Linked DNA regions of Homo sapiens: regions 1, 2, 4, 5, 6 and 7 are each linked to region 3. Evidence: promoter capture Hi-C in 16 types of primary human blood cells and fetal thymus (Javierre and others, 2016). All regions are on one chromosome and are shown on one strand. The core of a region is centred on a gene start or on the middle of the fragment in contact, and the rest is flanking DNA. Distances in the headings are between cores, read along the strand shown. Region 1 overlaps ZNF221 (zinc finger protein 221). Region 2 holds the start of ZNF223 (zinc finger protein 223). Region 3 holds the start of ZNF229 (zinc finger protein 229). Region 4 has its middle 6.3 kb from the start of ZNF155. Region 5 overlaps ZNF222 (zinc finger protein 222). Region 6 has its middle 5.6 kb from the start of ZNF45. Region 7 holds the start of ZNF230 (zinc finger protein 230).

The links. The method cuts DNA at HindIII sites, captures the fragments that hold promoters and counts their contacts. A CHiCAGO score of 5 or more calls a contact.
Region 1: a fragment that was not itself captured here is called in contact with the fragment with the promoter of ZNF229 in region 3 in 4 of 17 cell types (M0 macrophages, erythroblasts, M2 macrophages and 1 more); the score reaches 8.4 in M0 macrophages.
Region 2: a contact is called between the fragment with the promoter of ZNF223 here and the fragment with the promoter of ZNF229 in region 3, in 2 of 17 cell types (erythroblasts and neutrophils). The highest score is 5.6, in erythroblasts.
Region 4: a contact is called between a fragment that was not itself captured here and the fragment with the promoter of ZNF229 in region 3, in 5 of 17 cell types (erythroblasts, M2 macrophages, M1 macrophages and 2 more). The highest score is 8.9, in erythroblasts.
Region 5: a contact is called between a fragment that was not itself captured here and the fragment with the promoter of ZNF229 in region 3, in 1 of 17 cell types (M0 macrophages). The highest score is 5.3, in M0 macrophages.
Region 6: a contact is called between a fragment that was not itself captured here and the fragment with the promoter of ZNF229 in region 3, in 1 of 17 cell types (erythroblasts). The highest score is 5.1, in erythroblasts.
Region 7: the fragment with the promoter of ZNF230 here is called in contact with the fragment with the promoter of ZNF229 in region 3 in 4 of 17 cell types (M2 macrophages, fetal thymus, total B cells and 1 more); the score reaches 5.8 in M2 macrophages.

Annotation. Positions count from the first base shown.
Region 1 is chr19:43,955,407-43,959,362 of GRCh38, forward strand. The region is part of intron 1 of ZNF221 (zinc finger protein 221); the gene reads left to right. Among named protein-coding and RNA genes, the nearest start is that of ZNF221, 6.2 kb to the left of the region's middle. The HindIII fragment of the contact is 1,773 bases long and covers 1,515-3,287 here.
Region 2 is chr19:44,050,146-44,054,066 of GRCh38, forward strand. ZNF223 (zinc finger protein 223) reads left to right here and starts at 1,891. Exons shown (of 5, transcript NM_013361.6): 1 at 1,891-2,050. RefSeq lists enhancers at 1,557-2,058, 1,878-2,117 and a silencer at 1,778-1,837. The HindIII fragment of the contact is 18,414 bases long and covers 1-3,921 here.
Region 3 is chr19:44,446,472-44,450,375 of GRCh38, forward strand. It overlaps ZNF229 (zinc finger protein 229), which reads right to left and starts at 2,001. Exons shown (of 6, transcript NM_014518.4): 1 at 1,838-2,001; 2 at 1,042-1,129. The HindIII fragment of the contact is 11,359 bases long and covers 1-3,904 here.
Region 4 is chr19:43,975,912-43,979,798 of GRCh38, forward strand. It overlaps a transcript of ZNF221 not described here. Among named protein-coding and RNA genes, the nearest start is that of ZNF155, 6.3 kb to the right of the region's middle. The HindIII fragment of the contact is 1,108 bases long and covers 749-1,856 here.
Region 5 is chr19:44,025,744-44,029,533 of GRCh38, forward strand. ZNF222 (zinc finger protein 222) reads left to right here. Exons shown (of 4, transcript NM_001129996.2): 2 at 1,280-1,406; 3 at 1,655-1,747. Among named protein-coding and RNA genes, the nearest start is that of ZNF222, 2.3 kb to the left of the region's middle. The HindIII fragment of the contact is 1,659 bases long and covers 993-2,651 here.
Region 6 is chr19:43,939,024-43,942,819 of GRCh38, forward strand. No RefSeq gene overlaps it. Among named protein-coding and RNA genes, the nearest start is that of ZNF45, 5.6 kb to the left of the region's middle. The HindIII fragment of the contact is 910 bases long and covers 1,173-2,082 here.
Region 7 is chr19:44,000,663-44,004,399 of GRCh38, forward strand. It overlaps ZNF230 (zinc finger protein 230), which reads left to right and starts at 2,295. Exons shown (of 5, transcript NM_006300.4): 1 at 2,295-2,445. ZNF230-DT (ZNF230 divergent transcript) reads right to left here and starts at 2,208. Exons shown (of 3, transcript NR_110727.1): 1 at 1,603-2,208. RefSeq lists an enhancer at 2,058-2,567. The HindIII fragment of the contact is 6,099 bases long and covers 1-2,488 here.

The sequences.
Region 1 (3,956 bases), core at 1,151-3,650, 490 kb before region 3:
ACTAATTTCACGGACCCAGGCAGCCACTGCAAGGGAGCACATGGGGATATCTGCTTGTTGATTCAAAACCTGAAGGGGGCTCTGCCAATGAGCATCAACAGGTCCTACTTTAATGCACACCCCCTACTTCAAATTTCTGTAAGTTCATGCCTCACATGGGCATCCCCTTTAATAGACCAGATCTCCACTGCTCTTCTGCCTGAGTGTATGGCCAGGCCATTTGCCACTGCCCATGAGTCAGTAAAGATCCCAAAGTGGGTTTCTACCACCATTCAGTTTTTCATCACTGCTAGGAAAACAGCGTGTAATTCAGTGCATTGAGCTGATATGTTTTTACCTTCTTTGATCAGGGTGGCATCCTTCCAAATCATATGTTCATTCACTTTGGAACTGCCATTCACAAAATGAGCAGCTCTTTGCTGGTCAGTTGAGAGTTGTTTATAGCTTCTCACACAGTTCCAGAGTCAGTCTCCAGGTAGCATGACTCTGTATAAACTATTTCCATTTTATTATGGAACTCTTCTGGGCACTGCCATCCCCATTAGAATGTTTTCCTAACATTACCTAAGAGAGCATAGGTATTTCAGGTGTCAAGATTTTTAATGTCTTTCAGTCATAGGGCTAGCCTCAGTTAATGCCCCATAGTGGGGTAGTAAATACTCTTCAAGTCAAAATTTTCTAGTCCAAAGTCTCAGTAATTGTCACTAGAAGGCACTCACAGGCTTCTGTCATAAGCCCCAGCCTACATTCCACATGGAGCTATCAAAACAGAATTTGTCCATACCAGCACTTCAGATTCTATTCTACACTGTGCGGACTCAGGCAATCTTACTGGTTCCCATTTAGCATGTCCAACTAATATTGCTTGAAGGGTAGATTTATATGCCTTCTGTTTTGTAATGCTAGTCAGGAGAAACGTTCCCTAGTCAGATACAATGTCCATTCCCATAAAACATTTAGGTAAAGAAGATACAACTTCTTAATATAAAGTCTGTTTAAATAGTCCAACTTTCATAATCCTATCAACCCTTACATTTTTATGTTCTAGTCCCAGGAAGTTTTCCACCACTTGCCCACCCCAACACTCCCCCCAGCCATTTTATCCTCTCTTATGCGAAACACTGAGAGTCAGCAGGAGGGGATTGAGCCAAAGGACCCTGGCTCTTGTCAATCTTTATCTTGACTAATCTACTTGACTACTGCCCCCAAGCAATTCCAAGTGGGGTTTCTCATCATAATCTTTACCTTCGGCCTTTTAAAATTTCTCCAAACTGGAGTAAATACAACAAACTTATTTGAAACCCTTTAATATTGGGGGATCAGCAGAGGATCCACCAAACTTTCAATATTATTGTGTTCAGACCTTTGTTTTAGCCTCATCAATTTCCATTTTATTTTTTCCATTTCTTAATAAAACTGTTAAAAGTAAAAAATCTTAAATAAGTCAAACAATTTAATTGAGCAAAAAACAATTTGCAAATCAGACAGCCCCTGAGCTAGAATAGATTCAGAGAAGCTTCACTGCTACCATGTGGTTGAAGAAGATTTGTAAACAGAAAAAGGAACGTGACATTCAAAAAGTGGAAGTGAGGAACAGAAACAGCCAGTTTGGTTACAGCTCAGCTTTTGCCTTATTTGATCCTTGTTTGAACAGTTGGCTCCCTTTGATTGGTCAAAACTCAGTGACTGGCACAAGAGTAGGTTACAGTCTGTTTATACTTCCAGTTAGGTTACAGTTCGTTATATATGGATAAACCTTTTCTTATTTTTATTTTTATTTTTTATTTTTTTTGAGATGGAGTCCTGCTCTGTCGCCCAGGCTGGAGCGTAGTGGAGCAATCTTGGCTCACTGCAACCTCTGCCTCCTGGGTTCAAGTGATTCTCCTGCCTCAGCCTTCCAAGTAGCTGGGATTACAGGCACACACCACCACACCTGGCTAATTTTTAGTAGAGACGGGGTTTTACCATGTTGGCCAGGCTGGTCTTGAACTCCTGACCTCAGGTGATCTACCCACCTTGGCCTCTCAAAGTGCTGGTATTACAGGCATGAGCCACCATAACCCGCCTGGAGAAACCTTTATACCTAACTTAAAGTATGTAAGAAAGCAGCTTTAGGCTAAACTTAATTTAACATAATGATCTAAAGATTTTCACCCTGTTGGAATGAGTCCCATGACTCTCTCTCTTTCTTCTTAGTTTCACCTTTATCATTGTTTTTTAAATGACCTTTAAAAAATTTCTAGCTTTCTGGGATGAGTCGTTTGACTCTGCCCTCTGCCTTTTTCCTCTTGCTAATTAACCTAATGTTTTTATTAACATCTTTAATATCTTTAAAGGGAAGCTGAGACAGCAAATCTGATAAGGCTTCTAGGACTGTTGTTCAGTTTTGCAAGAGTTAAGATGTCAACTAATAAATAAAATCAATACTGAGCCACAAACAAAAGAAAAGATGTTTTAAGTGGGGTCTTGTGAATTGCAATCAAGAAGTACAGATCTAGCAGTCAGCTAAATCATTTCCTGTTCTATCCAGGCAAGGTTGGGCAGGGGCTTATAAATGTTTACTGTAAGTTTACATATCTGGAAGGTATTAGTACAGTCCATGATTGATGTCAGTTGGTTAGCAACTTAGGATGTCTTTGGTTGATGATCAATCTAGTTCAGCATAGCTGTTTCCCCAAGAGTTTCGCAATCAGGCCATGTATAAACAATTCCAATCAAATGCAGCTGGTTTTACAATTTGGCCCAGTTAAACAGGTTAAAATCCATCTGGATGTGTACATAACTGAGGTCCAACTCCACATGCCTCTTTTTAGAAACTTCTGACATAACCATCTCCATTTTGAGTTTTCTTTTTACAAAAGTCACGTGGGGTATCCATGCGAAAGGGGCCCCCTTAGCCACAGCATTTACCATGACCTGGGTAAGAAGCATATTCAGCAGATGAATATCCCAGTCATCATAAATTCAGTCCCACGTGGCTTGCATGCGGTATATCAGCTGCATCATCTGGGGTATCCCACCGAGCATTTATAGGGTGAGTTGAGCAGTCCGCTTTTTCAGGGCAAGCAGACATTACCATGTCTTTTATCCAGTTGATCAGGCTGGCTGTTCCCTTGGGAACAATCTGTTAACATTGATAGTGAGATTCAGGCAATATGGTTAAATATTGAGTTTATTCAAACACAAAATTTTAAGATGTCCACCTGGGAGGACACGGACTTCAAAAGATTGGATAAGTGCTCTGAAGTGGAAAGGTTTGAGAGTCATTATGTAGGCAGGGTCTAGGAAGCTTAACAGGATGTCAGCATTTTCTATACAAGATTAATGCATAGTTATAGCAATTCGATAGCAGTGTTTCCTTTTATTGGGAAGAACGTATTTAACATTCTGCATTAGAGATGTAATAGTCAAAGGGGTCTTTTATCTCAGACAAAGAATCTTTTATCTTAGATGCTATCTGGTCTGAGCCAGGAACAAGAAAACAAAGAAGGAAGTTAAGAGGTCAAGCTCAGTGACTCAGTTTCCTTCGGGCCTAACAACTTTTAGAAGCCCAAAATAGATAAGACTATTGGGTTTTTGGTTGTTTTTTTTTTTTCACATCTCCTGTGTGTCTGCATCAGGTGTTTACCGTCTGTAATTGTTGCATCATGTATCACCATCTGTAATTGTTTCATAGTGAACTGTGGGTCCTACATAAACCCAAATATGCTCTTCAATGCAACATTTAAAACCAAAGATGCTGCTACTTAGTTTCTCTCACAATCCAGTTGAGTAAAGATTCCTTAAGAAGCTACAAAATAAACAATTCCTTCACACTGTACACTGTAGTTTCAGTTTCTTGGTTTTACCCTTCCCATACACTGATTGCCTTTTGGTAACCACAGGTCTTAGAGGTACTTACTGTTGTCCTGGTATATTTTTTCCCTTAGGGACAGCTTTGAGGCAAGTGGCTAAAG
Region 2 (3,921 bases), core at 641-3,140, 400 kb before region 3:
GGAAGAAACTCTTAATAATAAATCATGCTCCGTCACCTATAGAATCTTCTCCAGTTTTATGGCATTGAATCAGACATTGGGTGTCAGATTGATACCAATGCCAAGCTCTTCAACAGTTATACTTGCTTTAAGATACTTAGCAATTCACTAACTTCTCTGAAATTTAGCGTTTCTACATCTAAAGTAGAAATATTACTACCATGAGAATGTTAAATGTAGCTTTTCCATGAGGACACAGCTTCTCCATTGGTGGCTGGAATTTTGTTTTTCCTGTCAAACCAGTGGTACCACAGCATCTGGACTAGGGCTGTAACTGAGAACCACCATTTTTCTAAGAGACAGCTTATTTATTTCTCTCTCTTTTCTCATTCCCTTAGTTCCCCACTTCCTATGTAGCCCTTTAAAAATGCAAATATAGACTTTTACCTCCCCTTCACCAGACACTTCCTACAGGGAAAGTTCATCTAACTGTGTGCTCCAAGCCAGAACTCTCCTCCAGAATTAACAGTCAATTTACAAACTAAAGCATGCTGGCCTCTGAACTCTCACTCACCAGGAGGTTGCCTGAAGAGACAACAGTTGAAAGCGTGCCTGCTACTCTCTCCCTTCTGGTTACAACTTATTTCTGCCCATGAAAAAGCCAGCTCAACTGCCTAATAGATAAGGCACCAAGCCAGCACACAGACCCCTTCCCTCTTCCTCCCCTACCTTTTAAAAGTGCCTGCTTTCTGCTCTAAAAGCCAAGCCGTGCACTTAAAGACAACACCTGTGCTACTTCCCCTACGCTAGCTCTAGAATAAATCACTTTCTTTATACCAGATCTCCCTCTTGTTAACTGGACGTTGCAAACGGGAAGCCACTGATCTACTTTTCAGTTACAGGGGCTGATGCTTTCCTGGCTTCTCATTGCCCCTCCCAACCCATTCTACCTGGCTCATTCTTTAAACCAGTGGTCCCCAACCGTTTTAGCACCATGGACCGGTTTTGTGGAAGACAATTTTTCCACGGACTGGGGAATGGTTTCGGGATGAAACTGTTCCACCTCAGCCATTAGATTCTCATAAGGAGCGCCTGACCTAGATCCTTCGCACGCACAGTTCACAATAGGATCCGCGCTCCTATGAGAATGTAATGCTGGGCTGATCTCACAGGAGGTGGAGCTCAGGCCATAATGCTCCCTCACCTGCCGCTCACTTCCTGCTGTGCCGCCCGGTTCCTAACAGTCAGTGGACCGGTACAGGTCTGTGGCCCTGGAGTTGGATATCCTTGCTTTAAACCCTGAGCCTCCTTTCAGCCATCTGACGGCTCAACAGTCACTCTATCTAGCTCCTTGAATATTGTATCTCCTCGCTTGTTCCCTGTCCAAGAACACTCCTGTCAATCATGGGAGACATTTAGACTTCATAAATTCTTTCTATTCAATATTTTCGCTCGAGGACTCTGGGAAGGACAACTGTCAGGGTAACAGTCTGCATTCCCCACCAGGAACCTGGGGCTATGAAATTCGTTCCCCGTGGGTGTTGCGGGAAGTGTAATCGAGGAGCACCATGTAGTCGCAACACTTGAGCCTAAAGGGTGAGGTGATGGACATTTTCCTTTTGCATCTGAGGCTCTGCAGTCCAGACACCTTGCGGGATTCCTGATACTTCAGCTCAGGTAGGCGTTTCCGGAGAATTCTGGGAAGAGTAGTCCATTTTACGGGAAGTGTAGTCCACTGGCTCGTGGAACACTGGGTATTTTGGCTCTGGCAGGTGAACCGTTGAATTCTGGGAACGATAGTCCAGACACTCTGCGGAGTCCCGGGCCCTTTGGCTCAGGGGGGCGGGTCCGGGGAATTCTGGGGAGTGGAGTCCAGACACTCTGGCGCAGAGAGGACACTTCCGGTCTCCTAGTCTGAGGTTCCTGCTTTAATGACCGGGGTAGTTTGAGCCATTTCTGCGTCTTGCAGGACATTTTGAACGAACCCCCTTTGCTTGAGGCTCGCAACCACCCGATGATCGATGATCGTCTCAGGGGAAAAGAAGCCTTGGCGAAGAGCAGAGGTTTAGAGGTGCGAGGGCGGGGAGGGTGTTTATTGTTCCCGTCAGCGGAGCCTTCTGGCGTCGGGGGGCTTTGCTCGCCTCCCGGGGGGTGGGATTGGGGTGGCCTTGTGTGCCCTGCTCTGAGGGTTTCCAGGACTTTGACCTCGCTCAGTCCGCCTCCCTACGTATGCAGTGTGTACACTCTTTCTCGCAGTGTGATGTGGAATGTTAATGTCTCTGTACTTCCCATTGCTGTTCTTTAAAATGGTGCTTATAGGGTCATCCTAATAGAATTGTTTTGCGAATTGAAAGAGATAATACAAATGAAAGCCTTAAAGTTGTCCCTGTCACTTGGTGAGTGGTCTCTTGTTGCCTGATATTTTAAAACGTTTGATATCATTTCAAAGCTATAGAAAAATTGCAAAAACAGTATAAGAAATTCTCATATACCCTTTACCCAAATTTGCCAAGTGTTTACATTTTTCCTGTTTGCTTTGTTGATGACCATCAACCAAATACCACCAGGAACATACCTGTAACCAGAGACAGCTGATTGGTAGCTTTCTGCAGCAAGGAAGCCCACATACCACGGTAATTGTGGGGTGTCTTGGTAAGAGGCATTTAGGAAGGGCTGGTTATAGGGTTTCACATAACATGGTAGATAATATTGGATATTATGTTAAATAATACTGTTACCGATTACATGTCAGATAGATGTGTTAAAAGAATACTAGTATTTGTAGTGTACTTACTAGATAGTGTTGGATAGCATATTACCTAGCATCATGTTATCTAATCTGCAGTTCCATATACGAATTTGTTAAATTTTTCATTTAAAGTCCTTATGACTGTCCTCTGCCCCACCCTTCACCTATTCAAAGTCCAGTTTATGCGTTGTCTTTAGCTGTCACATTTCCATAGTTGTTCATTTGGAGTTTGATATTGAAGGGGGCCTGCCTCTCCACACCTGTGGGTGTTTCTCACAAGGTGGAAATGAGAAACTGAGAAAAGAAATAAGACACAGACACAAAGTATAGAGGAAGAAAAGTGGGCCCAGGGGACCGGCGCTCAGCAAATGAGGACCTGTACCGGCACTGGTCTCTGAGTTCCCTCAGTATTTATTGATCACTATCTCTACTATCTTGGTGAGGGGGATGTGGAAGGACTATAGGGTAATGGTGGGGAGAGGGTCAGCCGGAAAACATGTGAGCAAAGGACTCTGTCATAAATAAGTTTAAGGAAAGGAGTTGTGCCTGGATGTGCACATAGGCCAGATTTATGTGTGACTTTACACAAACATCTCAGTGCAGTAAAGACCAGTATTGCCGCCAGTATGTCTCACCTCCAGCCATAAGGCGGTTTTCTCCTATCTCAGTAAATAGAATGTACGATTGGGTTTTATACCGAGACATTCCATTCCCAGGGATGAGCAGGAGACAGATGCCTTCCTCTTACCTCAACTGCAAAGAGGCCTTCCTCTTTCACTAATCCTCCTCAGCACAGACCCCTTATGGGTGTCGGGCTGGGGGACGGTCAGGTCTTTCCCTTCCCACGAGGCCATCTCTCAGGCTGTCTCAGTGGGTGGAAACCTTGGACAATGCCCAGGCTTTCTTGGGCAGAGGTCCCTGTGGCCTTCCGCAGTGTATGGTGTCCCTGGTTAATCGAGACTGGAGAATGGCAATGACTTTTACCAAGCATACTGCCTGCAAACACATTTTTACCAAAGCACATCCTGCACAGCCCTAAATCCATTAAACCTTGAGTCAATACAACACATGTTTCTGCGAGCACAGGGTTGGGGCTAGGGTTACAGATTAACAGCATCTCAAGGCAGAAGAATTTTTCTTAGTACAGATCAAAATGGAGTTTCTCATGTCTTCCTTTTTCTACGTAGACACAG
Region 3 (3,904 bases), core at 751-3,250:
ATAATCCTTACTTGCAAAACTAAAATAATTTAAGTTTTTCTCTCTTTCACACACACATGCCTATGTGAATAAACTTCAAAGCCCAGTACGTGGTACACAGAAAATCATCAATATACTATTACCATTGACCCAACCCAGCATTAACCTAGGAATACAGGAACTCATGCATTTAGTAAATGTACATTCAGTGTCTAACAACATCTTAGGAGAATAAACACTAGACATACAGCAGTAAATTAAGATGGAAAAGGTAATTGTTCTCATGGTGCTTACTTTCGGGTGGGTTAATCTCTCTACAAATTAGGTGACCTTTGGTTGCAAAAAGGGCTATGAAGAAAATAAAGCAAACATGATAGATTCCTGTTTTCCAACAAGAATGTAGGTGCTATCAGGTGAACATATGTGGCAGCTGTGGAAAGAGCAACATTAAATCAGGTGGTCAGGGACAGTCTCTAAGAGCTGCCTGACAAATAAATCAGCTGTGAAAAAAGCTGGGATGAGACAAGTCCAGAAGGAAGCATAAGCGCAAAGACCTGGTTTCTGTTTAGAAGGTCTCCTGGCCAGGTCTTACCTGTTAAGTTTTTTTAACTTTTTAAACCTTAGCAACTCATCTGTGACATGGGGATAATAGCTAACATACAAACTTGCTCAGAAAATTCAATAGAAATACATTCATTTATTCAAATATTTATTGGCAAGCCTGGCACTGTCCTAGACACCATGGATAAATAATACCTGGCATATAGTAAGCACTCAGTTAATATACACCATCACAGTTACTCTAATTATTTCTACCCTGCGTTTCTTCAGCATGGCGCTGAAACAGTGTAAGCCTTTACTGACCCAGTGACACACTACTAGGAGCCAAGAAGAGAATACACTAAATAAAGACACTGGGAAATTCCTCAAACCTCCCCCATTTCTAGGGGAAGGCAGGTGTGGCTAAGGGGTCTGAATGAACATTTGTGATATCAATGGGATGAAGAATGAGGTCACCAAGAGACCTGGCATTGCCACAAAAGAGAACCAAAGTTCACTCACCTGGAGCTCTAGTGTCAAGAGATGTGGGGTTATTTCTCCTTCTTTTATACAATTATCTCCGAGAAACGAACAATTCCAAGAAGGAAGCCTGTGAAAGAAAAATGAACAGCAGGATAACATGATTTAATCCCAATTCCCACCACGCCACAGGGGGAAATCTCTCAGTGCCAGCTGGATGTAATCTACCCCTTCCTGTAATCTACCCTCGCTACTTGCTTCAGGAGCCGAGGAAAAGAACCTCTCTTCCTACAGGACTCAGAGTACAAGGGACACGCCATTCCTGATGCCCAAAGAAACCGTCTACAAGCCTACTTTCACTGCCCCTTTCAGGAGACAAGGAGAATCAAGACAAAATCTCAAGATTTTAATCCAGAGCTGACTGTCACATGCTGTGGGACACTTACAAGTGAAATTCTGCCTGTGTGTGCTTAGGCGGCTACAAAAAGCAGAGCCAGCAACGATACAGCAAACCAACTCCTAGGACTTGCACAGCGCTTAATACATTTCAAAGGATAAAATTAGAACACAGGGAATCAACTTCCTGTTTACAGAAATGACTTCGCAGAAAACTCTGAAATTACTCCACAAGTGGGTGGGCGGCTACCCTGAGAAAATTCATGTCATCGATCCGCAACTGACACAGTGGAGTCTCCCGCACTGCAGATCTCATCTCAAAGCCAGAGCTGGCCTCAAACTGCTTTTCCAAGCCTGGACTGCGAGGGCTGCCGACCCGGGCCCACCCCGCACAGGCGCTCAGAATGTTCGATACGTGCGCCTCCTTACACCCCTGCCTCACCAGGCCGAGCTCATGGAAATCCGTGGGCTTCGACCCTCCGCCGCACGTTGTCCCTTCACACTGGTCCTATAGAGCCGATCCTAATTCCCATGGCCTGACAGTACAACCGCATGGAGATGCACGTCTCTAAGACGCCTCACCACTGCCTAAGAAGCAATCAAGGTGACGCGCCCACCGGAAACGGAAGTAGTCGACTCGAGGTGTGGGACTACCTTTCCCAGAACCCTCCGCAGCGCAGTCCGATCCTAGGGGCGATGGTGTCGTAAATGCGCGTCCACCTCGAGTCACGCCCACTGCGAGGCGGCGGGAGGCGGCATGCAAGGTGTTTCTGAGTTGAAAAGAATGTCTTTACTCAGTACTAACATATTCGCGTTGTAGCAAACCTGACTATATTCTCAAACAAGCCCATCATCCCATCACCAGGGATATAAAGCATTATTGATTTTCTGGTGTAAAAGCCAACTAAATATTTATTTCAAAAGTAGTTCATATTACATGTAAAGAATGGTTTAAAAAAAATTCTTACTTAATCCCTGGTTTATGTGAGTAAATATGAATTCTTAAGAATCCCATTTCCCAAATGGCATCATAATATTTTGTAATCATTTCTTGCCACAGGTCATATATCGTGGATAGTTCTGTATGTCACAAAAGACGTAGAGATACATAGAGATAATAAAAAAACACAAATTATTTGCAATACTTGCCTAGCATTCTTTAGTTTTTAGGGAAGTTACCCCTTTGTCCTGCATTGAACTTACACTTCTAATTTTATGATATCAAAACTACACACAATCACTTTCTTTAATATTTTCCCAATTTGATGGACTAAATATCCTGTCTTATTTTCCCAATTTGACAGAGTAAATATGCTTATTACCGATTGCATTTCATTGTCATCTTTTATTGTCATACACTCTCTGTGTATGAATGATATCGCTTCTAAGTGATGAATTGCTCCCCCAGTTTCAACATTTATAAAGTAGTTTAGAAAAAAAAAAAAACAAAAAACTTCATCTGACAAGGTATATCAGTCTTTTCATTTGTGGCTTCTTTTTTTTCTCCAGTATGACCAAAAAGACATTCCTTAGCCTGATTCCCAATAAGTGCATATCTATATTCATTTCAGGCTCTTTCATTTTTCTTTTGAATCACCGCGTGATTCATTTAAGTGTATGATATGAAAGGAAGATGGAGTTTCCTGTTTCACCAAAGGATTGTCTACTTTTCTTAACAAAATTTACATAAATATTAATTCTTTCCTTTCTGATTTAAACGGCATCCTAATCACTTACTACATTACTATATATATAATGAAATATTTTCTGGGATACAAGTGTGTTCTGAAGATAGAGATTGCTTTTTCTGTGCCATGATGAAAGGTTTCAGTTACAGTGATAACTCATTTCCTTATCTCTCCCTCCTTGTTGTGTTTCAAAAATTTCATCCTAGAAGTTCTAGAACTCTCTCTTATAAACAGATTATCGAATTGTTTTGATAAATTCTAAAAAATTGCCAATTGACTCCAAAGCATCCAAGCCCTTCAGATATTTGGTTCCAAACCCACCCCTCTTTGCTTGGGTAGACACAGTCCTACTTCCCATCCTGTGTCCTCCAGTTTTACAAATGTCTGAATTTGCTGCTATTGTTCTTCCCTCTGTAAGTCCATCCTTTCCTGTACTATTAAAATCTTACTCCATATTTAAGACACAACTTGAATATAATTTCCTCTATCGAGTGTTTTTGAACTCTATATCATAATTCAATGAACAGATCAGTCTGTGATTGGGAGAATTTCATGCGAGTGTAGTGGATGTTAAATACCACTCTCAGAACATTCTCATTTCCCCGAGAAATCAATAAATTATATTACTCTGGGATCCAGCAACACATGGTTTAAATTGCTGGTTACCACCTTTCACATGGCCTCCATGGTCAGATCTCTAAGTCATCAAAATAATTGACTCTTCTTTTTCTTTATTTTCTTTATTTACCTTTCATGGCTCTGGCACATGGGAAGCACTTAAGCAATTCAATCAAGTGTCTTGGCCGGGCACGGTGGCTCAT
Region 4 (3,887 bases), core at 53-2,552, 470 kb before region 3:
ATTGTATATAGTATAAATTTAACAATCATTTGTCACTTTTCTCACAATATGAGGTGAAAAGATTTTGTAATAACAGACCACTGCATATTGTACAATTAAGTTTTTTCAACAATTTTAAGGCAGGATTCACAGTAAACACTTTTTTCTTTTAAAAAATTATTTTTAAGGAATAGAGACAGTCTCACCATGTTGCTTGGCTGGCCTTGAACTTCTAGGCTCAGGCAATCCTCCTACCTCAGCCTCCCAAAGTGCTTGAATTATAGGCATGAGCCACCACACCCAGCCCACAGTAACATTTCTAATGTGGCAGATGTAGTTACATTGACAAAAATTTTTCTGGTAAAGGCCAGGTGTGGTGGCTCACTCCTGTAATCCCAGCACTTTGGGAGGCTGAGGCAGGTGGATCACTTGAGGCCATGGGTTCGAGATCAGCCTGGTCAACATGGCAAAACCCCGTCTCTACTAAAAATACAAAAATTAGCTGGTGTGGTGGTGTGTGCCTGTAATCCCAGCTACCTGAGAGGCTGAGGCATGAGAATCGCTTGAGCCTGGGAGGCGGAGGTTGCAGTGAGCTGAGATTGTGCCACTGTACTCCAGCCTGGGCAACAGAGCGAGACTTCATCTAAAAAAAAATTCCTAATAAGTTTTGAATTGATCATGATTTGTGATTCTGCGTTTCTGTGCAGGCTTTAATATGATTGCCTTCTAATTGCTGTAGTTATTTCTTTTATCAGACTTCTCAGGTAGAAGCTTTGCCAAATTTGAAGGAAAATTTTTGGCAACCTCAGTATTTCTTCCCATCTCTATGAACTACCAAGAACATTTGTTGGAGTTTGGTGATTTCATCATACATATTCATTATTGGAGCAAGAGTAACCTTTACATACTCTTCTTTATTGTTGGCCATAAGAATACGTTTTTTGGAAAGTGGTATATGGCAGTATGTATAAGGTACAACTGTTCAACCTGGAAATCATAGGATAGAAAATTACAACATTAAAACTCTGAAAATTAGTAGATTACATGGATGATGTCACTTAATTTTAAAATGGAAAGAACAAGTGTTCAACCACAGGAATTTGTATGAAGTGCATTTATTAATATAAAAACACAAAGCCAGTAAAATGATGACATAGATGTACAATAAAAAGAGAAGAGCATAATGTATGCCTTAGGGAAATCCTATTGTAGCCTTCATAACAAACTAAGTGTCTTTGTGTTTCTGGGTTTGTTTATTTGGTTATTTTTAGTGTGTATGTACATCATTTGTGGATGAATATTCTGACATTTTCCCTGGCAATGAGTATTTGCTGGAATTTTTCATTTTATAATTTTATGCATTTTAAATTTCTCATTGAACACCAATTTTACCAAAGCAGTTATGTGATGAAAAATTTGAAAAATTATTAATATTAATCACTTACCTATAAGGACTCTGAATAAGATTGCTCTACATTGTCATATGACAGTTCAAAATTAAGGAATAGGGATGTGGAAGTCATATTTCAAAATAAAAAAATGTATCTGGTCACCTGGATATACAGATTGATGAGTGTGGTCAACTGCCTTCATAACTAATGTGTGTGATTCTGCTTTAGGCATAAGTCAGGAAGCAAGCAAATCCTAGTGACAGAAATAATGTGGGTATATATAGTTGTGGAGGTTAAAAAAACAGATTCTTTGAAGAACAAATGCGCATGATCAGGGAACTTAACATGACAGCAGCAGTCTCTTAGTGTGTGGAACCAGCTCGGACAAAGAGCTGATTTGGGTGCTAATTCATAGTTATACACCATGGTGTAACTTAACTGTATTAGGTTAAAAGGCATTCTTCAAAGTGTCTAGTTGAGATAGTAAGCTTTTCATAATTAATTTTCTAAATAATGTATTTTCATGATGCTATATTCATGCTGTGCCAGTTTGGATAGTAGATTGGAGGTCCCTAAGACCACCTCTGGGTTCTGTGATTTACTAAAATAACTGAGACTATAGTTGTACTTATAACAATATTACAGTGACAAGATACAAAACAGAATCTGTAAAGGGAAATGGCTCATGGGCAGTTGTCTAGAGGAAACCAGAAGCAAGCTTACCAGAGTCCTCTCTGCATGGTGTTACATAAGACTCAACTCCTCTAGCATTGAATTGTGATACTACTTGTGAAATGTCTACAATGGAAGCTCATTAGCAACCAGCAGCACAGGTTCTTATTGAGATTGATTATGTAGGTATGTGTCTAGTACATATCAAGATTCCCAACTCTAAGAAGAAGAGCAAGTGTTCCAAATAAGCTGCATTGTAGAGTTTAGGCGCAGTGACCACTCCTACCCATTATGGAAAGGTGGTAACTCTCTCAAACCCCATGTTCCTTGACTCCAGCCAAAGGCCAGTGTTGCAAACAGCTCTTTTTAAAGTTAGCAGTCTGACTTATGCCTGCTATGTTAACTTTTTGTGCATGTGGTATCAGAAAAGTAGGGCCTGCAGTCTTGTGGGGTTTTCTTAAACTATCACCAGATAATAGTTCATCTCTAAGATAATTATTTGTAAAAGAAAATTCATCAGATTACATTTTTAAATATTTTTATAATAAAAAATACCATAGGTAGGCCTTCCATCTACCCTCGTGTGTGTCTGGGTCCTCAAATTGGTCACAGGATGATATTAACAGCTGATTTGTTTTTATTGTTCATATTTATGTCTCACAGACTGCATGAGTATTTGACTCCCAATAAAACTGAATATTGAATACCTAGCTTCATATGTAGTACCTGAGCTTTTGTGTGGCCAGTATTTCTTGCCACTTCTCACGATGGACTGGGTCTCTTTTATGTATATGACCCTGGCAAGTTCACTATGTTAACTTTGAAATTGGGTACATTATTATAATTGGGAATTATTGCAGAGTCTCAATCTCTGTGTTTGAAAAATGAGGGAAGCTTCCCAAGTTATTATTCTCTGACCATATCAGTAGGATATCCATTTAAATGTTTGAGCTAAATGCCACAACATTTGTGTGTGTGTGTTTTTTTTTTTTTTTTTTTTTTTTGATACACTATGACAATAACTTCCTGGATAGATTTGTTGTTGTTTTTAATTTTTATAGTAAAAATACACTCATTTTACTTGCAAGAATAATGTCTAGACATTGGAAACAATTACTTTGGTACAGAAAAGTCTAAAAAAGAAAGTGGAAGATAGGAAGTATGAATATTTTGGTAAGGATGGTTCAGCATATCTATGCATATAGGTAACAATTGTATAGAATTTTACAAAACTAGGAACACACTAAGCATACTTGCTCCTAACAGGATTGTCCTAATATGACACTAATGTTAAAGGCTGTATAAATAAGTTGACCTCCAACCTCATTTCTAATGCCTGCTGTATCCTGGTGTACTGAATATTAATTTTTCCTTAAACAGTTTTCTGATGATGAGGATCTGTGTGGTATCAATTTTAATTACAACATGCCTAGACTACAGTCCCTAGTTATTTAATCAAACAGTAATACATATATATATATATATATATATGGAAGGCATTTTGTAGATATTTAGCCCATAATCAGTTGGCTTTGAGTAGGGATATTATGTGAGATAATGTCAGTGGGCCTGATGAATCACTTGAAATTATTTAAAAGTAGAGCTGAAGCTTCTTTGAAAAAAGAAATTGCACCTTTTAGTAGCATCTTCCTCTCGTGGGTTAGTGTTCCATCTGAGCCATCCTGGGGTATAGCCATATGTTTTTTGCAGTTGCTTAGCCAGTCCCACAGTGGCATAAGAAAGTTCCTTGCAATAAATCATTTGTATATGTCATATTGATTTTGTTACTCCGTTTCAACGCTGACCAAAAGATATTTTGTTCCAGAAGTGGTTCTAGAGGAAGAG
Region 5 (3,790 bases), core at 572-3,071, 420 kb before region 3:
ATTTTGGGACCTGAAAGAGGTAACACAAATGAGAGCCTTAAAAGCAGTCCCTGTCACTCGGTGTCTGGTGGTCTCTTGTTAATTTCCCACGAAGCCTGTCAGGTCCTCTGGTGGGGTCAGAGCTCCAGCTGCAGGGGCGCCGGCCCTTCTGCCTGATCCCTGCAGGACGCTGGATGATCCCTGACGCCTTCTGACCTCTTTTTAGGAAAGTGAGGGGAGCATTTAACTTTTATGGGGGACGGCAAAACGGTCAGGGTGTTTCACAGCTTTCTTTTTCCCCAGCCCGACCTTTCTAAAAGAGCTGCAGGAAGGGACTTCTTGGCTACTGATGGCAAAGCTCTACGTGAGTGATCCTTGGCTTTTTTTCTTTGACAGAGATGCTTACCTCAACCGAGAGTGTGTAGGATTTGTCCCTCGGGCATGGGTGTCGATAATGATTAAGCCTTAATTGGTAACTTTATTCCAAGTACTTTATACCCCAAAATACATGATCTTCACAGTGGCACTGTGGAGAGGTGCTGCTTTTTTCATTTTAAAGATGGGCGTGAGACACAGGTGGAGCAGGAGTTGAAACCTAGGCAGTCCAGGTTAGAGCCTGAGTTGATCATCTCTTGAATGCAATTCTCATTGAGGCAGAGGTACTAGCTGGGAACAGGTGGAGAACGTAAGTTAGGACTTGATTGAAGGCACCTTGAGGCAAGGCTCAGGGGCTTGGACTTCTATAGGAGTTTTTGTTTGTTTGCTTTTTGCTTTTTAATTTTTTTAACCTTATCTACTATTTTCTTTCTCTCTCTCTCTCTATATATATATATATTTTTTTTTTTACAGAGTTTCGCTCTTGTTGCTTAGGCTGGAGTGCAGTGGTGCAATCTTGGCTCACTGTAACCTCCGCCTCTCGGGTTCAAGTGATTCTCCTGCCTCAGTCTCATTTTCGTCAAAGGGCCCGCGACTCAAACAGAGCATTTGGACTATATCACTCTAACTCTGCAGCAAGCTTTCCTGAAGTGGAGTTAGAGATAGCATCTCAGTAAATGTCCTTTACCCACTATTTATTCAGGACACACCCTGTTGACTGGTGTGTGCAGTCTCCATTCCAAACCCCTATTGCCTAATCAGTCATTGTCAGGACACAAACAGAATAAGTAGGAAATCTATAAGCTGACCTATGTCTCTCAAGATCCAAAACAACTTTACACTTGTCCCTTGTGCCAGTGCAATGCTGCTGTCTCCCAATAGTCTTTGGCCGTAAGATTGAGGTGACATCTGCTTGATGTTGTAGGAGGCAGTGACCTTCAAGGATGTGGCTGTGATCTTCACTGAGGAGGAGCTGGGGCTGCTGGACCCTGCCCAGAGGAAGCTGTACCGAGATGTGATGCTTGAGAACTTCAGGAACCTGCTCTCAGTGGGTGAGGACGGGCACCCCCTGTAATGGAATGTCAGGCCCCAGGAGTGGTTTTTTAATCCTAGGGTTTTCAAGTTTGAGTGTGCAGTGAGAACCTACATTTCCAGTAAATTTTGCCTGGCTATTAGGTTGGTGCAAAAGTAATTGTGGTTTTTGTCATTGGAAGTAATGGTACACTGCAATTACGTTTGCACCAACATGATATTACCTTGAACATGTTGGGATTAAGCATGTGACTTTGCCTGTTCACAGGGCATCAACCATTCCATGGAGATACTTTCCACTTCCTAAGGGAAGAAAAGTTTTGGGTGATGGGGACAACAAGCCAAAGAGAAGGGAATTTGGGTAAGAACCAAGCAATTGTGTGTCCCTGCATGTGATTCCTGTTACTTCTGTCCATGCCCATTTCCAGCATTTTGGGGTAAATGGCCAAACCTGTTTCCTGGATTATTACAGCCTTCTCCCTGCTGATGCCCCTGCTCCCACCCTTCCCACCCTGCCATCTGTTCTTACGGTAGCCAAAGTGATCCGTAGGAAACGGAAGTCACATTGCCATTCCTCAGCTCAAAGCCTTTCTGGCTTCTTGTTTTTATTAGTGTTACAACCTCTTTAAGTGGCTTTTGTAGACCCTGTGATCTGCCCTTCATCCCACACTGTCTGACTGCATCTCCTGTCCTCTCCCCCTTGCTCCATCTTTTCCAGGCACCTTGTCCTCCCTGCTGTTTCTCTATCCTGCCAAGGACATTGTATTGCCTATTGTGGCCGGTGACATAAAACTCAGCAGACTGAACAAGAAACACTTATCTTTCTCTTCTGTAGGCCTGAAGTCTGACACATCTCACTGGGCAAAAATCAAGTGGTCTTAGGGCTTTGTTCCTTTCTGGATGTTCATGGGGAGAAGACTTCATTTTGGTTTACCAGTCTCTAGTCACTGTCCACACTCCGTGGCTCTTGTTTCCCTTCCTCCATCTTCAAAAGCAGCTACATTGCATCCCTGACCATTCTTCCATAGTCATGCTTCCTCTGCCACTCTTCTTATGCCTTCCTCTTTCACCTTTCAGGTCCCTTGTGATAGTATTCATCACTCCTGGATGATTCAGGATGACCCTCCCACTTTCTGCTTAGCTGGCTAGTGACCTCAATGGCATCTGTAGCTTTAATCTCCCTTGCTGTGGAACATAACGTGTTCATAGGTTCTGAGGACTGGATGTAGACATCTTTCAGGAATGATTATTTTCTCTACTACAAAAGCTTCTGCCTCCGAGCCCTCACTTGCTCTTCTCTCTGATTGGAATACACTGTCCCCACAAAACTTACTGACCCCTCTTTTAGTTTATGCAGCTCTCTGCTCAGTTTTAATATCATGGGAGAGGTCGTCTCCAAGCACCTTATTGAAAATACTATCCTATCTTTACTCTTCTTGGCCTGCCTGTGTTGTGTCTCATGTATTTTTGTCTACTGATAAGTCGCCCCTCCCCTTTGCAATGTAATCTCTTGAAGGCATTTATCTGTTTCTTTATGACTGCATCTTCAGCACCTAGAATACTCCTGGTACATGGCAGTTATCTGTAAATATTTGGTATTCTTATGAATGAATTAATGGATGAGAGGACTTGACTGTCTGTAAGAATCATGGAGATAGCTAATAAGTAACAGACATACAAGAGTGAATGTTATATAGTCATGCCTTGGTAGCCGTGGGGTTTGATTCCAGGACCCCCTTGTGGATACCAAAAGCCAAGGATGCTCAAGTCCCTTCTACATGTAAAGTATTTGTGTATATCCTACACACACCCTTTCATATACTTTAAGTCATGTCTATATTAGGTATAACACCAAACGCAATGCCTACCCATCGCTTTATTCACATGGATTCAATGTATAGGACTCAATGTGAGAAATTCAAGTTTTGCTTTGTGGAACTCTGTGGAATTTTTTTTTTCCAAATACTTCTGATGCACTGTTGGTTGAATCCATGTATGCTGAACCCACAGATATAGAGGCTGACTATATGTTGCAGGACAGTTGTTGGTTTGTTTTGTTTTGTTTTTTTTTTTTTTTTTTTTTTTGTCTGTGCAGGGCTGCTTATCCAATTTTGACTTTCTTAGGTTCTCTTGACATGGTTGGTTTTCTGTGTGTGCAGTTGACCCACATCCCATGGAAACTTTCAAGCATGGTTTTCATGACCACATTGAGAAACATGCCTTCCCTGGGGCTTACCCTTGAGCTTTCCTTAAGGACCGTGTTTATGTCTGTGAGAAATTCTTTATATCTATGAGCTGAATGTTGCTTATATTTCCAAATGTTTTTCTTCAAAAAATGTGTCTATTTCTGCATCTTTATACAAATTTAATTGTCAAAAATGTGAAGGAATATAGATTTTACTGA
Region 6 (3,796 bases), core at 378-2,877, 510 kb before region 3:
CCCGGGTTCACGCAATTCTCCTGCCTCAGCTGCCTGAGTAGCTGGGACTACAGGCGCCCACTACCACGTCCGGCTAATTTTTTGTATTTTTAATAGCGACGGGGTTTCACCGTGTTAGGTAGGATGGTCTCAGTCTCCTGACCTCGTGATCTGCCTGCCTCAGCCTCCCAAAGTGCTGGGATTACAGGCATGAGCCACTGCACCCAGCCGACACAGCATGTTTTTAAAATTCATTCGGGTTGTACTATTTGTTCTTACTGTTGAGTACTCTTCAATGATACGGATATATCACAACTTATTAATCCATTTATTTCTTGATAAACATTTGGAATGCTTTCAATTTTTTGCTACTATGAGCAAAGCTGATGTGGACATTTCACAACAACGATTTGTGTAAACATATGTTTTTACTTCTGTAGTTTAGATTCCTAATAGTGAAAGTGCTGGCTTACATTATATTTTATAGCATCATGAAAGCATAAATGATGTGCAGTACACTGCCCATAAAGTATATAATTTGATGAGACTTAACATATGTACACACTTAAGAAACCATGCCACAATCAAGGTAATGGACATATCCATCACACTCAAAACTTCCCTTGTGCCACTCTGTAATTTTTTTATAGGCTTAACTTTATCAGAAATTGTCAAATTGTTTTCCAAAAGCGTTGTAATTTTTATATTTCCATCAAAATGTATGAAGATTCCAGCATCTCCAATCTTCACCAACACTTGGTGTTGTCAGACTTTTTAAGTCATTCTGTGGGTGTGTAGTGCTTACGGTGGTTTTTGTTTGCATTTTACAGGTGACCAAATATTCATCACATTTTCATGTGCTTTTTGGCCATTTATGTATTTTGTTAAGTGTCTGCTTAAATCTTGAGCCCATTTTTTTAACTGCGTTAGTTGTCTTATTATTCATGAATTAAGAGTTCTTTTATATTTTGGATAAAAAACCTTTTGTCAGATATGTGTAGTGAGAATAGTTTCCTCCACTCTGGGCATGTATTTTTATCTCTAACAAAATCTTTTGAAGAGCAGGTTTTTATTTTTATGAAGTCCAATTTATCAATTTTTTTATAGTTAGTTTAAAAAAATTATATCTAATAAATCTTTGTTGACTCCAAAGATAAGATTTTTCTCCTATGTTTTCTTCTAGAAGTTTTATAAGCTTTAGCTTTTATATTTAGGCCTGTCATCCAAGTAATTACTATTTGTATAGGTGTTTCCAATTCATTTTTTTTCCAATTTATTTTTTAAAAAGACTCTTCCCTTCTTTAAATTACTTGAGACCTTTGGTACAAAATCATTTGACCATATATGTGTGTGGGTTTATTTCTGACTTCTGGACTCCCTATAGTGTTCTTTTGATTTATATGTCTAATTTGATGCCAATATTATGCTGTTTTGATTGCTGCAGCTTTATAAAAAGTCTAGAAGCCAGGCAACATCCATTCTCCAACTTTTTTTTTTCAAGGTTATTTTGGCTATTCTAGATGCTTTGGATTTTCATATGAATTTAACAATCAGCTTGTCAATTTCCTCAAATAAGCATGTGATTTTTTTTTTCCTGAGACAGAGTCTCACTCTGTCACCCAGGCTGGAGTGCAGTGGCATGATCTCAGCTCACTGTAACCCCCACCTCCTGAATTCAAGCGATTCTCTGCCTCAGTCTCCCAAGTAGCTGGGGCTACAGGTGTGCACCAGCACACCCGGCTAATTTTTGTAGAGATGGGGTTTTGCCATGTTGGCCAGGCTAGTCTTGAACTCCTGGCCTCCAGTGATCCATACTTCTTGAACTCCTATAGTGCTGGGATTACAGGCATGAGGCACCACACCTGGCCAGCCTGCTGAAATTTTAATCGGGACTGCATTCAATTTATAGATCAATTTGGTAAGAATTGATGACTTAACAATATCGTATCTTCCAATCCCTAGTCATACTATATTGCTCCATTCATTTAGGCCTCTTTTAATTTCTCTTGGCAATATTTTATAGCTTTCAATGTAGATGTCATGAATGTCTTTGATCAGATTTACCTTTAAATAGTCGTTTTTAAAATAAACCTCATACTTAAAAGCTTTAGATTTACAGAAAAATTGAGCAGGTAGTAGAGGAAGTTCCCATATATCCTATACCCAATTTCCCGTTATTAACTTCTTACGTTAGTATGTTACATTTGCTAGAATTAATGAACCAATATTGATACATTATTATTAACTAAAGTCCACGGTTTGTTGAGATTTATTTAGTTTTAAACTAATGTCCTTCTTATGTGCCAGTATGCCATCCAGAATGTCATGTTATATTTAGTTTATCATGTCTCCCTAGGCTCCTCTTGGTTGTGATCGTTTCTCAGACTTTCCTTGTTTTTGATGACCTTGACAGTTTTGAGGAGTGCTGGTCGGGTGTCCTGTAGAATATCCCTCAAATGGATTTTTTCCTCATAATCAAATTAAGGTTATGGATTTTGGGGAAGTAAAGTGCCATTTTTATCATGTCATTCAAGGGTACATGATCAATATAACCTATCACTCTTGACGTTGACCTTGATCACGTAGCTGAGGTAGTGTTTGTTAGGTTTCCTCACCCTTTTTCCCCTTTTCTCATATTGTACTCTTTGGAAGGAAGTCACTATGAGTAGCCCACATGGAGGAAATAGGGAATTATATCCCATCTCCTTGAGGGCAGAATAGCTATAAAAATTATGTAGAAATATTTCATATTTTCAATGTTACTAATATTATAAATAATGGTTTTTATTTTTCATTTCTGATTGTGTATTTATCTATTTTGTTTTTTAGGTTTGATCAGTTTTTGCTTTATGTATCTTGGAGCTCTGTTTTTAGGTGCATACACAATTAGGATTGTTAGGTCTTGTTAGTGAATGGATCCTCTATAATTGTGTAATGTTTCACTTTATCCCTGGAAGTTTTCATTGACCTAAAGTCTAAATTGTCTGATAATAATGTAACCACATCAGCCATACAGTTTTTCTTTTTATTGTGGTAAAATATGCATAGCATAAAATTTACTGTTTTAACTGTTTAAGTGAACAGTACAGTAGTGCTAAGTATGTTCACAATGTTGTGCAACTATCACTACTGTCCATCTCCAACTTTTTCTTCATCACATACTGAAGCTCCGTACCCATTAAACAATAACTTCACATCCTCTCTCTCCCTAGCCCCGAGTAATTGCTGTTCTACCTTCTGTTTCTGTGTATTTGACTATGCTAAGTACCTCGCATAAGTGAAATCATACAATATTTGTCCTTTTATGTCTGACTTCTTTCACTTAACATAATGTCTTTAAGCTTCATTCATGTTATCACGTGTCAGAATTTAATTCCTTAAGGCTGAATAATATTCTGTTGTATGTATATACTACATTTTGTTTATTCATTTATCCACAAACATTTGAGTTGTTGCCACCTTCTAGATATTGTGAATAATGCTGCTATGAACATTGCTATACAAATATCTGTTCAAGTGTCTGCTTTCAATCATTCTGTGTATACACCCAGAAGTGGAACTGTTATATCAAATGGTAATTTTATGTTTTTTTTTTTTGAGGAACTACTATATGGCTTTCCACAGTGACAACACCATTTTACATTTCCACCAGAAATGCACAAAGTTTCCAATTTCTCCACATCTGTGCCAACACTTGTTGTATCAGCAATCTTTTGATTAGTGCTTTCATGGCACATATTTTTCATCACTCCATTTTCAGTCTCTCTATATAATTATATTTAAAGTGAGTTTCTTATATATAGCTTATAGTTGGGTC
Region 7 (3,737 bases), core at 1,045-3,544, 450 kb before region 3:
TACAAAGAAAATCAACCAAACCAAGAGTTGATTATTCTGAAAGACTAACAAAATTGTGAAAACTTTAGCAGGACTGACTAAAAAAGACTCAAGTAACTAAAAGTGGGGACATTATTACCCATTTTTACAGAGGTGAGCCACAGCGCCCAGCTTCATTTTTGTATAAGGTGTAAGGAAGGGGACCAGTTTCAATCTTCTGCATATGGCTAGCCAGTTATCCCAGCAGCACTTATTGAATAGGGAGTCCTTTCCCTGTTGTTTTTGTCAGTGTCATCAATGGCATGGTTTGGATGTGTCCCCACCCAAATCTCAGCTTGAATTGTATCTCCCAGAATTCCCACATGTGGGAGGGACACCACAGAAAGTCAGAATTATTAATTAAAAGGGAAACAGAACTAAGAATTTTAAAAATTCACAGCCTATCTACTTTGGAAAAAAAAATTAGAAAACCTGTTCTGGATAAAACAACGGTAGAGATAAGCAACTGATTTAGGAGATTAGTTTGGATTGGTCATGTCAACAGAAGCCAGGACCTGCTGTCCATTAACACTGGAAGAATGACCCCAAAGGCATCTAGGAGATCATAGAGGCTGCTCCTCCCAACACAGACCCAGAGTGCACGGACCTGGGAAGCAGAAGGGACCTTTGATGCCAAGTGCCCCTAACCTTTTAGGCTCAGTTCCCTGCATGCTACGATTGAGTGTGTCAATACATCTTATCTTTCGGGAAGGCAGAGTAGATCAAGGATACAGCTATAACTGGCATATGAATAGTGATCACTCAATTTTCAGAGAGCGGATGTTTGGCATCAAAAGTTTGGCACAGTCACCTTATTTTTGTGTCTAAACAAAATTTTGAAAAGTTTTTAGTTTAGAAAAATAGGTAAACAGTAGACTCCATTTTTTTTAAAAAGAAGAATATTGGTTTATAGGCCAATGTATGTTTATAGGGAGAAAAAAAGTTACCTTCAAAAGAGCAGGTTTTTAGATGAATTGTTTCCTAATTTAGCTTTATACTGTTATTATTTTTTAACCAATGCCAGTTTTTAAATTGCTAACTATAATAAAGAAATTATGTTTCACCAAGAAATAAGAAGAAACTTAAAAAAAAAAATCTTTAATTATTGAGGTATCTGTTGCCTAGGCTGGAGGGCAGTGGTGGCATCATAGCTCACTGCAGCCTCAATCAAACTCCTGGGCTTCAGCAATCCTCCCACCTCAGCCTCCTGAGTACTTGGAACTTGTAGTCCCAAGATCAGGCCACCATGCCTGGCCAGTTAAAAAAAAATTTTTATAGAGACGAAGTCTCCCTGTATTTCCCTGTCTGGTCTCCAATTCCTGAGCTCAAGGGAACGTCCTGCCCTGGCCTCCCAAAGGGTTGGCATTACAGGTTTGAGCCACTGCGCTTGGCCAGGAAGAAAACTCTTTATAAGACATGCTCCTTCACCTATAGAATCCTCCCGTTTTACTGCATTTACAATCTCAATGTAAGATTGATACCAATGCCTAGCTCTTCATCAGTCATTATTGCTCTGAGGTACTGAGCAATTCACTACATTCGCTGAAATTTGATGTTTCTACATCTAAGGAGAAATATGAATACCATGAAAAGTTTATGGGAAGATAGCTATTCCATGACGACACCGCTTCTCCACTAGTAGCTGTGATCTTAAATGGGGGTGGCTTTTCCTGCCAAACCAGTGGTCCCACAGCTTCTGGAGTAGGGGCTGGTGTCTTCCTGCTCCTCATTGCCCCTGCCAAACCATTCCACCTGGCTCATCCTTTAAACCGTTAGTTTTAACCTCCCATCGTCAGATTATCCTAATCCTTGAAGATTTTATCTCCTCGTTTGTTCTCTTCCCAATAACACTCCTGTCATCGTGGGAGGCGTTTAGACTTCAGGAATTCCTGTCTATACACTATTTTCGCTCAAAGACTCAGGAAGAGAGACGGACGACTCACAGGGTCACAGTCCACATTCCCCACCAGGCGCTCAGAGATATGGAATACGTTCCCGGTGGGCACTGCGGTGTGTGTAGTCAAGGACCACCGCGGAGTCCAACGCTTCCCGCTGAAGAGTGAGATTATAGACATTTTCCTTTGGCATTGGAGGAAGCGGAGTCCAGACACACTCTGAGTCGCGGGCAAGTTGGCTCAGGCGGGTGGACGAGTGAATTCTGGGAACTGTAGTCCATCAACTTCATGGAATGGCGGACCCTTTGGCTCAAGCAGTTGAACCGGGGAATTCTGGGAAGTGGAGTCCAGACGCTCTGTGGAGACGCGAGCACTTCCGGTGTGTGAGCCTGCGGTTGCTACATAACCGCGTAGTTTGAGCCATTTCTGCGTCTGGCGGGTCCTTCTGAACTTGTCACCTTCGCTTGGGGTCGCAACGACCCGATGATCGATGATCCAAGCAAGGGAAAAGAAGCCTTGGCGGAGAGCGGAGGTTTGGTGGGGGCGGGGAATGGGGTTTTTTTCCCGTCCACGGAAGCTTTCTGGGATGGGGGTGCTGTGCTCGCATCCCGGGGGTTGGAATTGGCGGGGTCCTCTGTGCCCTGCTGTGAGCGTTTCCAGGACTTTGACCTCGCTCAGCCTGCCTCTCTCCACCCTACCTGTGCGACCGCTTTCTCGCAGTGTGACGTGGAGTGTTACTCAATGTCCTTATACTTTCCATTGCTGTTTTTGGTAATGGGGACATTAGAACCATCCTAGTAGAATCGTTTTTGGGAACTGAAAGAGATAACGCAAATGAGAACCTTAAAGCAGTCCCTGTCACTTGGTGACTGGTGGTCTCTTGTTAACTTCCCGAAGAGGTCAGGTCCCCGGGTGGAGTCATAGCTTCAGCTGCAGGGGCCCTGGTCCTTCTCCCTAATCCCTGCAGGACGCTGGATGATCCCGGGAGGCCTTCTGACCTCTTTTTAGGAAAGCGAGTTGCGTCCGCTTCCACGAAGGGCGGGGAGCATTTAACTTTTATGGGGGACCGCGATGCAGTCAGGGTATTTCACAACTTTCGCCTTCCCCAGCCTGACCTTTCTAAAAGAGCTGCAGGGAGGGGACTTCTTGGCTACTGAGGGCAAATCTCTATGTGATTGGTCCTTGGCTTTTTTCCTTTATAGAGATGTTCACCCAACCGAGAGTGTGTCCTCGGGAATGGGTGTTGATAATCATTAAGCCGTAATTGGTAACTTCATTCTAAGTGCTTTATACAAATAAATTTAGGCCACACTGTGGCTCTGTGAAGTATTGCTTTTCTTTGTTTTAAAAATGAGAGTGAGACACAGGGTGCATAGCAGCCAACTAGTGAGAGGTAGAGCTGGGGTTGGCACCTAGGCAGTCCAGGTCAGAGCCTGAGTTGATCACCTCTTGGATACATTCTCATTGAGGCAGAGGAACTAGCTGGACTCGTAGGGAAAGCAAGTTAGGACCTGATTGAAAGGACGTTGAGAGCAAGGCTCGTGGGCTTGGACGTCTAGGAATTTTTAAAAATTTCTCAACTATTTTGTTTCATGTTTTCCAAGTATTTCGTACTGTTGTGGAACTGTATCATTGTGGAAAAGTCTGAAATAGGAGAAATGAGAGTAGAAAAAGTTTTTTAATTACCCATGTATCCAAGATGTAAAGGTAGTAACTGTTAAGCTTCTAATTGATTTCTTTTGTCTTTCTTTGTGTCTACTTCTATATTTGTTGATAAACATTTTTTTAAAAATTGTTATATTTTAATGTGTTTTCCCATATGTC